Regions from separate parts of the Homo sapiens genome. Here region 2 is linked to region 1. The links are contacts of gene promoters, found by promoter capture Hi-C in blood cells and fetal thymus (Javierre and others, 2016). All regions are on one chromosome and are shown on one strand. Each heading gives the region's core, a stretch centred on a gene start or on the middle of the fragment in contact. The rest is flanking DNA. Distances are from core to core; before and after follow the strand shown. Region 1 holds the start of GMFB (glia maturation factor beta). Region 2 holds the start of FBXO34 (F-box protein 34).

The links. The method cuts DNA at HindIII sites, captures the fragments that hold promoters and counts their contacts. A CHiCAGO score of 5 or more calls a contact.
Region 2: the fragment with the promoter of FBXO34 here is called in contact with the fragment with the promoter of GMFB in region 1 in 3 of 17 cell types (monocytes, naive CD4 T cells and total CD8 T cells); the score reaches 5.6 in monocytes.

The regions. Positions count from the first base shown.
Region 1 is chr14:54,487,682-54,490,336 of GRCh38, forward strand. It overlaps GMFB (glia maturation factor beta), which reads right to left and starts at 1,299. Exons shown (of 7, transcript NM_004124.3): 1 at 1,244-1,299. The coding sequence starts at 1,246. RefSeq lists a silencer at 982-1,381. The HindIII fragment of the contact is 2,730 bases long and covers 660-2,655 here.
Region 2 is chr14:55,270,081-55,272,735 of GRCh38, forward strand. FBXO34 (F-box protein 34) reads left to right here and starts at 1,341. Exons shown (of 2, transcript NM_017943.4): 1 at 1,341-1,457. FBXO34-AS1 (FBXO34 antisense RNA 1) reads right to left here and starts at 1,998. Exons shown (of 2, transcript NR_184222.1): 1 at 1,802-1,998. RefSeq lists a silencer at 1,393-1,892. The HindIII fragment of the contact is 2,090 bases long and covers 774-2,655 here.

The sequences.
Region 1 (2,655 bases), core at 49-2,548:
CAGCCTGGGCCACAAGAGTGAAACTCCGACTCAAAGAAAAAAAAGTACATACAGATCTGGATTGGATCTCAGAAGCAAGGTCTTCTGAGCTGTAAATTCACAAGTCATCTGAATATAGATGGTAACTGAAGCCATAGTTTAGGATGAAGAATACAGAATGGAAAATGAAGGATTAGGATGAAACCTGGGACTCCTTCGAGCATTGTCCAGGGAAAGGAGAATAGTCTGAAAGGGAAACAGATGGACCAATAGGAGAAGTAGGAGGAGCTCTGTATCCCAGAAGCCAAAGGGGAAGAATGAAGGAAGAGAATGCTTCAAAAACAAGAGAGTATAACACTCTGGAATGCAGCTAAAAGGTCAGAGAAGACGAAAACTGAAAAGAATCCATTCGATTCAGTGACCATGACAAGATCTATTCGATGAAAGTGGGCTGAGAATTGAGTGGATGGTCACAGAGAGCAGTGTTTTGTTGTTTCTAATGAAATTTACCCATATTTTAAAACCTAATGGGATGGATCCAAAAGATCCTTGATGGCGATTTATTTAATTTTCCACTTTATTTTTATGCTTGGGGTCCATCCCATGTAAGAACAGAAGCCACAGCCCCCAGAACCAACAAAACTAAAGTTATTGACAATTACTTTAAGGCCCAGTGCCAAAGCTTTGGGTCGAAAGGTTTCCAACTGCCATAGGAAAGCAAAGATAAGGAGAAATCCTCTGTAGGAAGCTAGGGAAAGGAGCAGAGAGAAAGAAGCTAAGGTGAGGCCGAGAGAATTCAATCGGAATTCGAGTCCTCCCCCAAAACGCCGCCAGGTGGAAGATGCTCGGGGCCCACCAACCCCTGGAACCTGGCCACGGCCCTGGCAGGGAAAGCAGGAATTGAGGGAGCCCTCCGATGGGGCAGACCCCTTTCCCTCCAACCTACAGCTCAGAAGCTGAAGCCCTCCAACCAGAAGGACCTGGCGTGGGGCCTCCCCAACCCCCCTGCTCGTGGCCGCACCCTAGTCCCATGGCCCGCTGGGCGGGTCCACCCCGGGCCCAGCTGGAAGATGCTGCCCTGAGGCGTGGTGGCGGCGGCAGAGGCCAAGTACTCTAGCTATGGGCACTGGCCAGCTGCTGGGAGCGGAAGCGGCCGCCGAGCCCTCCTGGGCGCTGCCCGCCGCCGCCGGCTCCGGAAACCGGGAAAACCCGGCTGGCCGGCTCGCCCAGCCCTCCGGCCCCCGCCCTCCCAGCGGCAACTCACCATTTTCCTTCCGGCCGTCAGCGGCCTGTCGCCTACACTCGGGCGCCTTTAAGAATGGCACGGCGGCCGCCTCCCTTCCTGCCCCGGCGCCTGGCCCAGTCGCCCCCACCTATCAACGCGGCCTCAGCGGGCCGGCACGTGATGGCGGACGGCAAAAGGCGCGGCTCAAAATTAGACAGAATGCGATCGCCTGATTTTTTTTTTTTTTTTTTTTTTTTTTTTTTTCTTTTCCCTGCTCCCTCTAGAGGAGGACGCTCTGCCTGGCTGCAAGTGAGAAACAAACCCAAGGTGCATACTTAAAAGTCATGCCAGTTCTCCGGACCTTTTTCGCAGTCTTCAAGCTCTGAGAGCATGTTAATGGTGACATCAATGTTTTCAATGGTAAATGTGTGTACTGACCGCAGCCTACCTTCCAAATTTGATCTCCCTCAAATCTAGGCACACCTCCTTTCCTCCCACCCTCTCCAGAACCCCACTTCTGACCACGGCTGCCTTCCAGGACTTGGTTAATCAATCTCTCTCTCTCTCTCTCTCTCTTTCTCTCTCTCTCCCTCCCCCTTTCCCTCTCTCTCTTACACACATTTCTTCTCTCTCACACACACACACATTTCTTCTCTCTTCTCTCACACACACACATTTCTTCTCTCTCTCTCTCGTCTCGCTCTGTTGCCCAGGCTGGAATGCAGTAGCACGATTATAGCTCACAGCAGCCTCAAACTCCTGGGTTCAAGCAATCCTCCTACCTCAGCCTCCCCAGTAGCTGGGACTACAGCCGTGTGCCACCACACACCCGGCTAATTTTTAAATTTTTTTGTAGAGATAGAGTCTCCCTATATTGCCCAAGCTGGTCTTGAACTCCTGGCCACAAACAGTCTTCCTGTGTGCCTCCCAAAGCGCTGGGATCACAGGCGTCAGCCACCATGCCCAGCCTCTTTTCTCCATACAAGTTATTTATTGAAGTATGAATGAATGATGATTGGTGTTTCAATGAGCACTCTTATGGGCCACTGCCTAAGTAAACATCAAGAAGTCTCTGTACCAGATGCAGACTTAGTGGAACAAGTCCAGTTTTGAATGCATGAAGAAAGTGGTTTGGGAGAAGTAAAGTTTAGGCTCTAGGATTCAACAGGTACCTTCAATAAAACAAACTGCCTGGGGCAGTACCTCATTTTGTTATGACCATGGGTTCTTGGTCTCTCAATGCAAATTGACCTGAGGCCAAAAGAGTTTCTCCAGGCAAGGCTTCATTGGAGCTTATGCCGGAGCATAAGGGAGGCAGCATAAGAGAATGAGAGAATTCCCTGACTGACTCTCCTAAAAGAGCACAACAAATTAGGGGTAGTTTATGCAGGTCAGCATTATCTGTTTGCCAGGGTTGTCTTGAGTAATGGGCCACCCAATGGTCTGGTTTG
Region 2 (2,655 bases), core at 91-2,590, 780 kb after region 1:
TGAGATGTGAGCCACCGTGCCTGGACTTCCCCTCTCCAATTTTTATTAAAAATATGTATATAGATAAAGGTCTAGATGGAGATACTGAGTGGTTATTTCTTGGTGATGAGATTATGGGAAATATTTTTATTTTGTTTTTACGTTTTAATATTTAAGATTTTACACATATATTTTACAACAGTAGTTTTATAATTGGACAAAATTATTTTTGTTAAGGACTGGCTAAAATCAAAGTTGCTGGTTTAAGTGTAACTTGGTACAACCTTTTAAAAATCATTTGGCAGTTTGTATTAGTAACTGTGAAAGTGTTGATAGTCTTTTTCACCTAGTAATTTCACTTTTGGGTATCTTTAAAAATCTACATTCATGAAGATGTTCTATGATTTCTTTATAATGGCAAAAAGTGAATGAAGGAAACAAGTTATGTCCAAAAATAGAGAATTACTGCAGTAAATTTTATGTCCACTTAATGTAATTTTATGCAGCTGTTAAACTGGTTATGAAGCTTATGTGGAAATATGAGGAATGCTTATAAAAGTGAAAAGAGGATGCAAAATCGCGTACAACTACTATTACAGTGTAGTAAAATATATGTGATGGGGCAAAAGGTCTAGAAGAAAATACATTGTCCTCATGTTTTTCAATGTGGTTAATATTATTTTCACAATGAAAACAATAATAAGCTTAAAGATTGGGAATCAAAAGTTCCTCACTGGCCCTCTGATTTGAATATAAAGTGTTAAAAATTTATATCCATCATTAACCAGCCCTTAAGCTTCTACAGACTTTAACAGTTTCGTGTCAGCCTCAACGTTTATCTACTTTCTGACCGGTATCCCTGCCATGATTTTCATAGGAAAGAGAGTCAGAAGGGACCTTTCCAATTTTGTCATTTTACAAATTGAAACTCTGAACCCCAGCCTTCCAAGCTAGCAGCAGAACCAGTATGAGGATCCAGGTCTACTAGGTTATCTAATAGTATCTGAGACCATTTACAGCTTCAGGTCCACCCACGAATATTCATAAACTTGACATGTCTGCTGATTGAACCCTGGCGTCACTACCCTTCTTGGCTGGCCTGGGAGGTTTGATTCCTTTCCCTACAGTCGTGCTCAAACTTTCATTCTCTACCACTTGGGGGCCGCAGACGCGTCATCCAGGTCTCCCTTTTCACTTCCCCCTTCCCGCCCCCAGTGTCCGGCAGGGGGCGCCGTGAAACTCTGGATCCGTGGCCCCTCCCCCGGCCAACCGTCGATTGGGCCGGCGCGTGACGTCACTCCGTTTTAGCCAAACAAATGGGTTTCGGGGCGAGCGTTGGGCGCCGCCGCGCCGCGCTGGGTGCTCGGTCCGACTCAGCGGTGGGGAGTGAGCCAGGCCTCCCGCCACCGCTGCTGCCGCCACCACTGCGTCGGGCTGGTGCAGCCCCGGGCCAGGCCGCGGCCGGGGCAGGAGCGCAGGTGGGTCCGGGCCGAGGTGGGGCGTGGCGCGAGGGCCGCGCGACTGGGGTCCGGCGGCGGCCACCGTGGCCGCTCCCCGCCCCCTACCGCCGCCTGCCTGCGCTCCCGGGGCGCGGGGCGGGTGGGGGTGGGGGCGGGGGCGCCGCCCGCGGGTCCGGGGTAGGGACCCGGCCGCCTGCGCCTCCTCCGGTGCGGCTCTTTCCGCGCGCACGGCCCGGGCGCTGAGCGTCCCCGCGGGCCACGGAGGGTCGGGCGGGTAGGGAGCGGGGTCCTGGGTCCCCGCTGAAGCCGAGGAGATTCACGGATAGGCCGTGAGCTTGCACCGGACCGGCGCTCCCACTTACGGGACCCAGGGCGGTGAGGAAGTCAGCCTCTGGACTGGGGTCGCCTCGCCCCTGTCGCGCCCTCCCGGGCTCGGCCACTCTGCCCTTCCCTGCCCCAGCGCAGGTGAGCTGGCGCTTGTCCTTAACCTTCTTCAACGACGAGGCGGGACGGAGGCTCGGACGCCTCCCCAGCCTCTGGGCTGGCGCAAGTCGACTGCGGTTCGTCCTCAGTCCACGATGAAGTCATAGGGCTGTGGGTCCGTGTGTCTGTGACGTCAGAAGATGGGTCCTGGGATGTCACTGCAGGCCCGGGCGGGGACCTGGGCTCACGGAAGGGCCGGGGGGACCCGCAGGGTAGAAAAAGGAAGTTGTCTTCCACGAACGCTTGGAATCGCAGTGGATTTGAATCGAAAGTTGTTCGGTATCAGCATTTTGCAATTTTAATGTAATAGTTGTCAATTTCTTTAACTTCTTGTCCAGCAAGCGTTGCGAGTACAGCTCAGTATAAGACATTTGATTTAGAAAAACTTAAGTCAGGGTAGGAGGTTTTTTGGAGGGTGTAATGTAAAAAGCCTTTTAGGAAGCTAAATTCGTAGTTTGATAGTTTGCAATCAGAATTACTGAAAAAAAAGAGAACCACTTCTAGTGTTGATAAATCAGTTTGCTTTTTTTTTTTTTTTTTAACTGGACATCTATCTGCTTGTTAGCATTTTTTGTTAGAAAATGGCCAGGAGGAGGGAGAGTGGATCTTACATGATTTTTTTTTTCTGTTGTAAAGGGAGGGAGGAGTTTGAATTAATCCAACATTTGTCTTAAATAATAATTACCTGAGGAGTTAATTTATCCAGGTTGTCCCTATCCCACCCTATGGTACC